Linked DNA regions of Homo sapiens: region 1 is linked to region 2. The links are contacts of gene promoters, found by promoter capture Hi-C in human tissues and cell types (Jung and others, 2019). All regions are on one chromosome and are shown on one strand. The core of a region is centred on a gene start or on the middle of the fragment in contact, and the rest is flanking DNA. Distances in the headings are between cores, read along the strand shown. Region 1 overlaps RBM39 (RNA binding motif protein 39). Region 2 holds the start of TP53INP2 (tumor protein p53 inducible nuclear protein 2).

Region 1 (5,128 bases), core at 451-2,950, 1.0 Mb after region 2:
CCTGTTACAACTTAAAAGGGACTTTCCAAAGTCTTTAATGGCAGTGAAATTTTGTACTGAACATCACTGAAGTAAATGGTCCACTGGGCTGGGCCTTTGGACTTTTTGGTTATATGGCCTCTGCAGTAAAGGTGTTTTGCTATAACTGGATTTGACCTCTTCCATGTAAGAAGATCTAAATTTTTAATGCAAAGTATTCTGGAAAATAAGAAAAAAAATAGAAAAGTCATTTATTCCAAAATTTATAGATAATCCACACCACAGTAGCCAATATATTTCAACTGTGTCATTTTAATGTTATCTTTTATTGAGTAATTCTCTAAAGAGCTTAACGGAATGGACGCTGATTTAGACTTTGCAAAACTGGTTACTTTAACAAATAATATTCCCATGAGGGCAAGCTCAAGCACTTAGGATGCATACCTTGACATATGCAAAAACTCAGGTTTACAGCTCTTCAGAAAATAGGTTGACAACCAGTCTGTGTCACAATAACTTTGTTCCTTTTACTATTCTAGGATACTATGAAGTGTATGTTAAGAATCAGAATTATACAATTAAAAAAATTTATACTCAGTCAACTGTTTCTCAGAACATGCCATTTTTCTACTACCTAACAAACTATAGCTCAATGTGGCTTTTAAGACAATGAAGTTTTAGAATGAAAAATGCAACACGGCACTTTCCTTTGGTTAAGAAATTTAATTTAGTACTAAAGGTTTAAAGCAGAGTGTTCTGTATGTTTTATATCTATTCCTAAATACAAAAATTTTCTTCCAGGTAACTTTAAAATTAATTTGAAACATAAAGTTCCTTCAGAAAATCAAGAGTCCTGATTGAACAAGGGAATCATTTATTTATCACCTATAATTGACGAGAAGTCTGACTGGAAAGTATTTTAAGATTACCAAAGTGTTTTGAAAGGATCTTCCCTTAGACAATCTCATGGTTAAAGAAAATTGTCCATTCTCCTATTTAGTCCTGTGGTTCTCTACATTAGACAAAGGCCACCGAATATCACACATGGAGAACTTGATGCTCAGCTTCCTTGTAAAAGCTTGTAGCCTTAATCAGCTTATACACAGGATAAAAACAAGTAGACACCGGAGATGACCTTAGTGGCAAAAAGCGACATGAGACAATGGTACAGTAACGAAGGTCTGTACCCAAAAGTGTACGTTCTTATCCTTCTGGCACTTGAAGCGAAATCTTTAGCCACTCGGCCTGACACCTAAATTGGATAATTTATGTCAATTTATATGGATACACCTTCCTGGGTTTTCTTTTGATTAGAGAATTGCAAAACAAAAACATTAGGAAACCATTACTGTGGCAGAAAGTCTAAAACCAGATGACATAAACCATACCTCTGGTTGGTTGCATCAGATCCCACATCAAGACTAAACCCAACCTGATCCCCACAATTTCTTGTGATTGGTGAGGAACTATAAATGACTCCCATCCAAGCTTATACCAGAAAAAAGGAGCACATTTTCTACAAATTATATCATTTTTAATCCATTACCACATTATTTTAGGGGAACTACAAAAAAAAAAAATAGTGGCTTAACAAGCCCTGAATAACATTATATATTTTCTCATCTGTTTTATGAAATTTTATCAACCTACCTAACACAGTTGTAGTGAGAAAGACTGACATACTTACTATGAAGCATTTAGGGATCTTAGGAGGAAAAGAGCCAAAAAGAAATCAAATAAATGGCTATTTTTCTCTCGTTTTTCATTAACATAAGGTCGTAAGTATGACAGATTTTTATGTTTGTTTGAGACGGAGTCTCGCTCTGTCTCCAGGCTGGAGTACAATGGCATAATCTCAGCTCATTACAACCTCTGCCTCCCAGGTTCAAGCGATTCTCCTGCCTCAGCCTCCCGAGAGTAGCTGGGACTACAGGCGTGCACCACCACGCCCAGCTAATTTTTGTATTTTTAGTAGAGACGGGGTTTCACCATGTTGGCCAGGATGGTCTCGATCTCCTGACCTTGTGATCCACCCGCCTGAGCCTCCCAAAGTGCTGGGATTACAGGTGTGAGCCACCACGCCAAGCCCAGACTTTTTTTTTAAGACGGAGTCTCAGTTGGGTCCATGTCTCACGCCTGTAATCCCAGCACTTTGGGAAGCCAAGGCGGGCGGATCATGAGGTCAAGAGATGGAGACCATCCTGGCCAACATCGTGAAACCCTGTCTCTACTAAAAACACAAAAATTGGCTGGGCATGATGGCTCACGCCTGTAATCCCAGCACTTTGGGAGGCCAAGGCAGGTGGATCACGAGGTCAGGAGTTGAAGACCAGCCTGGCCAGGATGGTGAATCCCCATCTCTACCAAAAGTACAAAAATTAGCCAGGTGCGGTGGCAGGCACCTGTAATCCCAGCTGCTCGGGAGGCTGAGGCGGAAGAATCGCTTAAGCCCGGGTGGCAGAGGTTGCAGTGAGCCAAGACTGCGCCACTGCACTCCAGCCTGGGCAACAGACTGAAACTCCATCTCAAAAAAAAAAAAAAAAAAAAATTAGCCAGGCGTGGTGGCAGGAACCTGTAATCCCAGCTACTCGGGAGGCTGAGGCAGGAGAACTGCCTGAACCCAGGAGGCAGAGGTTGCTGTGAGCTGAGATCGTGTCATGGCGCTCCAGCCTGGGTGACAAAAACGAAACTCTGTCTCAAAGAAAAAATAAAGACAGAGGCTGGGCACGGTGGCTCACACCTGTAATCCCAGCACTTTTGGAGGCCAAGGCAGGCGGATCACAAGGTCAATTCTGGCTAACACAATGAAACCCTGTCTCTACTAAAATTACAAAAAATTAGCCAGGCATGGTGGCAGGCGCCTGTAGTCCCTGCTACCTGGGAGGCTGAGGCAGGAGAATAGCATGAACCCAGGAGGCGGAGCTTGCAGTGAGCAGAGATCACACCACTGCACTCCAGCCTGGGCAACAGAGCAAGACTCCGTGTCAAAAAAAAAAAAAAAAAAAAAAAGGCCAGGCGCGGTGGCTCACACCTGTAATCCCAACACTTTGGGAGGCCACAGCAGGAGGATCATGAGAGGTCAGGAGATGGAGACCATTCTGGCTAACACGGTGAAACTCCCTCTCTACTAAAAATAAAAAAAAAATTAGCCAGGCGTGATGGCGCGCGCCTGTAGTCCCAGCTAATCGGAGGCTGAGGCAGGGGAATCACTTGAATCTGGGAGGCAGTGGTTGCAGTGAGCCGTGATAGAACCACTGCACCCCAGCCTGGGCGACACTGCCAGACTCCATGTCAAAGAAAAAAAAAAAAATCAAAGAATCACTTGAACCCAGGAGGCGGAGGTTGCAGTGAGCCCAGACTGCGCCACTGCGCTCCAGCCTGGGCTACAGAGCAAGACTCCGACTCACAAGAAAAGAAAAAAAAAAAGTGGATCTCATCATATCTGTTACCTAAGACTTTTCGTACACTGTTTTCTGTACTAGTCTATAGCAGAGTTCTATTGAGTCACTCATCTTACCCAAATAAAGTGTACAGATATATTCATAATTTCCAAAATCCCCACCCTGTTAAGTCTAGAGTTTAAAAGGCCTAAGATAATGAAAGCCACCTTTAGAAGTACTTAAGTACCTGTTCCATCACTTCCAAAAGGGCCTCTGAGCAGCAAGTTGCAGAAATAATTCACAGCTTTGACTCCTTCGGCACTTTAGGGCAAACAATACTTTCCATGGCCTAGTTATCACCTAATTTAACTCTTTCTACCTTTTAAGATCAATGGATATATAACAGTTTTATCAGTAAGATAACCAAATATCAAACCAAAGTTAACAAATTTAAAACAAGACAACCTCTAATACAGAACTTGTCACCAGATTGTCATGATGGACTTGGAGGGGAAGGTATCTGAAACTATATTCTGAAATCTAAGCAAAAAAATCCACAGTTCCTCCAAGAGTTTGTCTCAAAAGGCAAAGAACCAATTTTCTAAAAGCAGCAAAGAAAAGCTTCAGAAGAGAATTTTGTATACTTTAGCCACAGGAACACAACTTAAGGTCTAAAACCACAAAAAAGCTCACCACCCTCCCCCAAGCCCCTTCTTAAAACTCACTTTTTGCTACGTTCTTCATGGCCGTTGGCACTGCTCAACTTGTTCTCATCCTAAGCAGGGTTGATAGAAGAACATCATGAGGACGAAGTGGTAACATTTCAAGTTGTCAAAGGGTAAAGGGAACAGGAATAAGAAAATACAAAACAATTTTAAAACTAATTATTTACTTATAGTTTAACATGGAAGGCTATAAAAAAATTTAGATGGGTATGTGTTTAACCACTTTGTTGCTTACATTTAAGTCATCAAGATACAAAAATAAAAAAATTTTCCATATTAACATGTTAAATTTTACTTTCTTATATAGTTTAGATATTAAAAGTTATCCAGATTTACAATGTTGAAGTGGTTAAATATAATTTCCATAAAACATGAAGTCCTGTTTTGAGTTTTATTCCATGTGCTATGGTCCCTTTGGTCAGTACCATGGCTCTATTTCTGCCTAAGCCCCAAGTGGCCATGCTAGCAGCCAGCCACTATCGATTTCCTGTGACCGATGCCATTCCTGAGATCTTCGCCCATTTCCGTTGGAGGGTTGGGACTGTAAGAGCTTGATGCCACCTCTGTCACACATCTCGCCCTGAAGCAAACAGGGATTCACACTGCTTTAGTAATGTTGACTCCCAAGAACCCAAGAAAGTCAATTAATAATCCACCAAGTCCAGCCTAAACATTTCCTACTTCCATACCTGTTTACATGGAATTACATCCATGTTAAAAAAAACTAAGACACAAGAATCTTAACATTAAAACAGAAAGTAGCTCTTCAAGAGTCTAAGCATTACAAAATTACATACACTATTTAAATCTATCAAGAATTCATCCAAATTGGTACCACATGGTCGTGCTATACAATCCAAAACAAATGTATTATTTTTAAAAGGTTTAGTGAAATGTTTATTTTAAAGTTTGATTACATCAGCTATAGGAGTAAAGTGCTAACTTACAAAGCTTACAGTTTGTGACACCAGTGATAATGCATGCATACTGCTATTTTCACCACCAACTGGTGAAACAATGAAAAGACAGTTTACTTTTACTGAG
Region 2 (4,975 bases), core at 2,343-4,842:
CCTCAGTTTCCTCACCTATAAAATGAGGGGTTTGGATGAGTTGAGGTCTGAAGCCTCCTCCAGCCCAGGTAATAAATCTTTGTAGTGGACAGGAGGAATAGGTCCTAGGGGTTTCAGGAGGGGACTTCCATGGGTACCTCTGACTCTACAGAGAAATGGAAGACTGAGATCTGACTTAGCAGCCTAGAAAGACTTAGCAGCCTAGAAATGGGGTTCAGCTAATTCTGGGAACAGAGTCCGGTCACTTAAGGTACCAGAGTGTAGCCAAGAGCCCCCTTTTCTGGGCTTGGGGAACCAGAACCATGTGTTCAACAGACCATTGCCTGTACACAGGGTAGAGAGTGCAGGTGTATACTCCTGAACCAGCCACCCTTCTTTTTTTTTTTTTTTTTTTTTTGAGATGGAGTCTCACTCTGTCGCCCAGGCTGGAGTGCAGTGGCACGATCTCTGCTCACTGCAAGCTCCGCCTCCCCGGTTCACGCCATTCTCCTGCCTCAGCCTCCCGAGTAGCTGGGACTACAGGCGCCCGCCACCACGCCTGGCTAATTTTTTGTATTTTTAGTAGAGGCGGGGTTTCACCGTGTTAGCCAGAATGGTTTCAATCTCCTGACCTCGTGATCCGCCCGCCTCAGCCTCCCAAAGTGCTGGGATTACAGGCGTGAGCCACCGTGCCCAGCCCCCAGCCACCCTTCTTAAGCTTCAAGCTATAACTACTGAGCCTGTGATGAAAGTCTACTCTATGCCAGACCCCCACAAGCTGGGTGCGGGCAGTATAGGGACAAAGACTCTGCCCTTGGGATGCCAACCATCCACTTGAGAAGACACATACACATACAATGAGTCATCATCACTTACTGTTTATGGACAAATAAACGTCCATCAAGGTAGCCATCAACTCGTGGGTAGGGACAAGGAAGGCTACCTAGAGGAAGAAAGGGTGAGTAGAATCTCTCCCTCTCTCTCTCTTTTTTAAGAGACAGGGTCTGGCTCTGTCATCCAAGCTGGAATGCAGTGGCTTGATCATAGCTCATTGTAACCTAAACCCAAGTGATCTTCTTATTTCAGCCTCCCTAAGCAGCTGGGACTACAGGTGCATGGCATCTGGCTAATTTTCTCATTTTTTGCAGATAAGTGGTCTCGCTATATTGGCCAGGCTGGTCTCAAACTCCTGGCCCCAAGCAATCCTCCTGCCTTGGCCTCCCAAAGTGCTGGGATTATGGCTGTGAGCCACCACACCTGGCCAAGTAGAATCTTGAAGACAGGAAAGATCTGGATTTCAGAAAGTTCTGAAGAAGGCATTCCAGGCAGGGGAAACAGCTTGAGCAAAAGGGTGGAGGTGGGAGAGTGCTGTAGAGTCAACAAGGAGTTTGACTTTAGCACAAGATGCGTGTAGGAGAAGGGGAGGTGAAGCTGGAGAGAACTGGGGCCGGAGCATGGGGGGCATGAGTTCTGTGTTAGGAGTGTGGGGCTTTAGGAGCCACATCAGGTTTTAGAACAAACAAGTGGCTTGACAGGAGAGACGTGTTAGGGATTATTTAATTAAAGTCAGCAAGTAGGTCTGAAAGGGTATGAGGTTAGCAGGAAGTGGCTGTGATGGGCAGAGGCTCAGAGTTGCATGGAATGAGGACACTTTGGGTATAACACTCCAAGGGCCACAATGCCACTCCCCTCTCCACCCCTCAGCCTTGGGTTATTTTTTTCTGGCTTCTTCCCCTGTCGCTAGGGTTAAGGAGTCCCTTGGGGGTTTCAGATGAGGCTGGGATAGAGTTTTATCACTAGAGTGCCGGGCACGGTGGCTCACGCCTGTAATCCCAGCACTTTGGGAGGCCGAGGCAGGCAGATCACAAGGTCAGGAGACCGAGACCATCCTGGCTAACACTAAACATACAAAAATACAAAAAATACAAAAAATTAGCCGGGCGTGGTAGCGGGCGCCTGTAGTCCCAGCTACTCGGGAGGCTGAGGCAGGAGAATGGCGTGAACCCGGAAGGCGGAGCTTGCAGTGAGCCGAGATCGTGCCACTGCACTGCAGCCTGGGCAACAAGAGCGAGACTCCGTCTCAAAAAAAAAAAAAAAGTTTTATCACTAGATCATTAACCTCTGGCCTAGGTCACCTCCGGCCTCCTTTTGGGCTAGGTGGGCAGTTCTCGGACCCTCCCCCACCAGCCCTGCTCTGCTGACCTAGAACCTCTGGCCCTGGAGATTCTGATATGTGTATTTGTGGTCTCTTCTCGGGCATCTCCCAGGCCACTGGGAGAGCTGGGGCCTAGAGCGTGGGGTGGGTGGAATCCTGAGGGCAGAGAGTGTGGAAGAATCTTACAATGGCAGCTCTAGAGGGAAGCCTGGATATGTTTGTTTGACAAACTGAGACCCAGAGAGGTAACATGACTTGAGGTCACACAGCAAGTCTAGGGCACAGTCAGGACTGAAAGCCAGGACTCTGGGGAGGCTAAAGCGCCCTGAGGTTTAGACCATCTGGTTCATGTAGAGAATGGAGAGGGTCAGGGCTGGGAGCTATGGGTTCAAATCCTGGCTCTGCCATTGACTGTACTTTTGTGACCTAAGAAAGTCACTTGAGCTCTCTGAGTCTGTTTCCTCAACTGTTAAACGGGACAATATCTACCTTTTGGGTTGTTGTGAAGATAAAAAAACACACCCATAGCACAGGTCGTGGCACACAGTAAGTGTGCCAATACATGTCAGCTAGTGGTATGGTGGTGCAATAGTAGGTGCCTAATAAATGTTGAATGCATTGTTGAACATGAGTTCACACGCTAACAGTGAGATTGTGAGACTCAGCTTTCCCACGTGTAAATCAGGACTCATAATCAGTCCCTGTCCTGCCACTTCTTTACAGCCCCGGTAGCAACATAGATTAAATAAGGTATGTAAACGTTCAAGCGCGGAGCCGTCTCAGGTCAATGTTTACTCAGCCCAGGGCAATTCCTCTCCAAGTCCTACTCTGCGAAATTTCACGTCAGCTTCACTAACTTCTCTACATTCCCAGATGCTCCCCGGGAACCGGGGGTTGGGGATGTCCCTCTTTTCTCAAGCCCGCCGAGCTGAGGAAAAACGGGGTGGGAAAGCAGAGTGTGTAAGGCTGAGGAGGTGAGCCAGAGGGGGGAGGGAGAGCAGGAATAAGGGCAGTGGGGAGAATGCAGGTGCACGGACGTGGTGTGGGTCGAGAACAGGGTCCGCATCGGGGGACTTGGATATAGGATGCAGTGAAAGGATTTGGGGAGCAGTGGGAGAGGTGAGGGCGCTGCGATCCGGGAAGAATCAGGAAAATAAGGAGCCGGTAGGAGGGAGTGGAGATCCTCCTCGCGGAGAGCTCGCCGCGGCGCAGGGCTCCCAGCTCCCCGCAGCTGCCTCCCCGAACACTCACCCTCCCGGTTCCGAGAACGTTTCCCGGCCCGAGCGCCCGGCCCGCAAACCGGGAGGGGAGGGGAGGGGAGGGGCAGGGGGGGATCCGCAGCCCGGGATTGGCCGCCGCCCCGCCAGCCGGTGACGCGAGGCGGGCGGGCCCCTTTGTGACGTCACAATCAGCTGTTTGAACGTTCCAATTTGTGCCGTGAGCCCCGCCGCAGCGGCCGCACAGACTCAAAGCCCCGCGGGCGAGCTCAGCAGCCCGGAGCGACCGCGGCCCCGCCGCCTCCCCCGCGAGTCCCGGCGATGCGGCCCGGCCTGTGAGCGGCCGGCGACCCTGGGACGCCCCGCCGCACAACTACCTCAACGCCGTGCCGCCCCCCTCCCGCCCCCAGGTGAGTCCCGACCCGGGTGGGCCTGGGGGCTCCCCTGCCACGGACACGCCCTGCGCCCCCCGCGCCCGGGCCTTTGTCTGTCTCCGCCGGCGGCCGCCGGGGCCGCGTTCCCGGCTCCCGATTGGTTGCCGCACGCCCGGTAGACCATGACGTCGTTCTATTTGCATATGACATTGAGACGTCACCAAGGCCGGTACCGCCCCCACAGGCTCGGGTCGCTTGTCCTCCCGTGACCCGGTAGCCGCTGTGTCGGGGCTGGGCCCTGGGTGAGACGCTGCAATCCAAAGGGGGCTGCAGGGGGATCGGCGATTTCCTAGGCTTATCCAGGGGCTGGGGTCAGGCCTCTGATCCCCTACTTTCTCTTTGCAACCTGAGAAGGAGTCAGACGGCGCTGCTGGGCCTAGGTTGAGGGGGTCGTCAGGAGTTCAGGGCTGCATGGGACTCCAGGTGGTTGGGACAGCACCAGATGGTGGTGGGATCCCCTCCCTCCGGCTCCAGACTCCGCCCCCAGGGACTAACAGAATAACATCCTCCTAATCCCTGATTTGTGTGCAGCGCCTTAGCTGATGTCACTCCTAGACCCAAAATGAAGGGTCTTAGACCCCAGTGCATGGAAGGGGCAACAGGCCCAGAGAGGAGGATTAGCTCTCTCGAGGTCACATAACCAATTAGAGTCATGCTCACTGAGTGACAGATGGATTATTAGCCAGGGGCAAAGACATAATAGGGGCTCAGTACAAGTGGTAAGATACACATCCTCCTTCCACTGGGGACCCGATCTTGGGCTCAGCCTTATCACGGTTTGATAGGCTCCTAGGTGTCCTTACTCCTGGACCCTTTTCCAGGGAATCTCTGGAGATTGGTTCACCTTTTGTGGTCCTGACCCCTTCTGTCCTCACTGTACCTTGAAGTCCTAGAGTCCAATAAAATCGCTGCCTCCCAGCTGTTTGGATCACAGAGAGGTGAGTCATTGGCTGCCTCGGGGTGTCTCCAGGGCTGATGTTGGGGTGGAGGGTGGGGTGAGGGTTCCCTCTATTGGCCCTTTACCTTCCCAACTTCCTAGGTCGTCAGCTAGGAAGGGCCTGACCTGGCCTAGTGCAGACAATTGCAGGTGTTTTGCTGCTCCCTCGTCACCTCTGCCCACAGAGAGTATAGGAGAAGGGATAGGATAAGGAGAGTTTCTGACTTAACAAGTGGATGGGCCTAGAGGCTGA

The links. Contacts are between HindIII fragments. The study calls those that stand out against the background at their distance.
Region 1: a contact is called between a fragment that was not itself captured here and the fragment with the promoter of TP53INP2 in region 2, in 1 of the 25 tissues and cell types used here (dorsolateral prefrontal cortex).

The regions. Positions count from the first base shown.
Region 1 is chr20:35,734,884-35,740,011 of GRCh38, forward strand. It overlaps RBM39 (RNA binding motif protein 39), which reads right to left. Exons shown (of 17, transcript NM_184234.3): 3 at 4,085-4,134. Among named protein-coding and RNA genes, the nearest start is that of RBM39, 4.8 kb to the right of the region's middle. The HindIII fragment of the contact is 5,614 bases long and covers 1-4,507 here.
Region 2 is chr20:34,700,752-34,705,726 of GRCh38, forward strand. It overlaps TP53INP2 (tumor protein p53 inducible nuclear protein 2), which reads left to right and starts at 3,593. Exons shown (of 5, transcript NM_021202.3): 1 at 3,593-3,761; 2 at 4,607-4,723. LOC105372599 (a long non-coding RNA gene) reads right to left here and starts at 3,431. Exons shown (of 2, transcript XR_936690.3): 1 at 3,386-3,431; 2 at 2,908-3,062. RefSeq lists a silencer at 3,389-3,868. The HindIII fragment of the contact is 10,895 bases long and covers 1-4,975 here.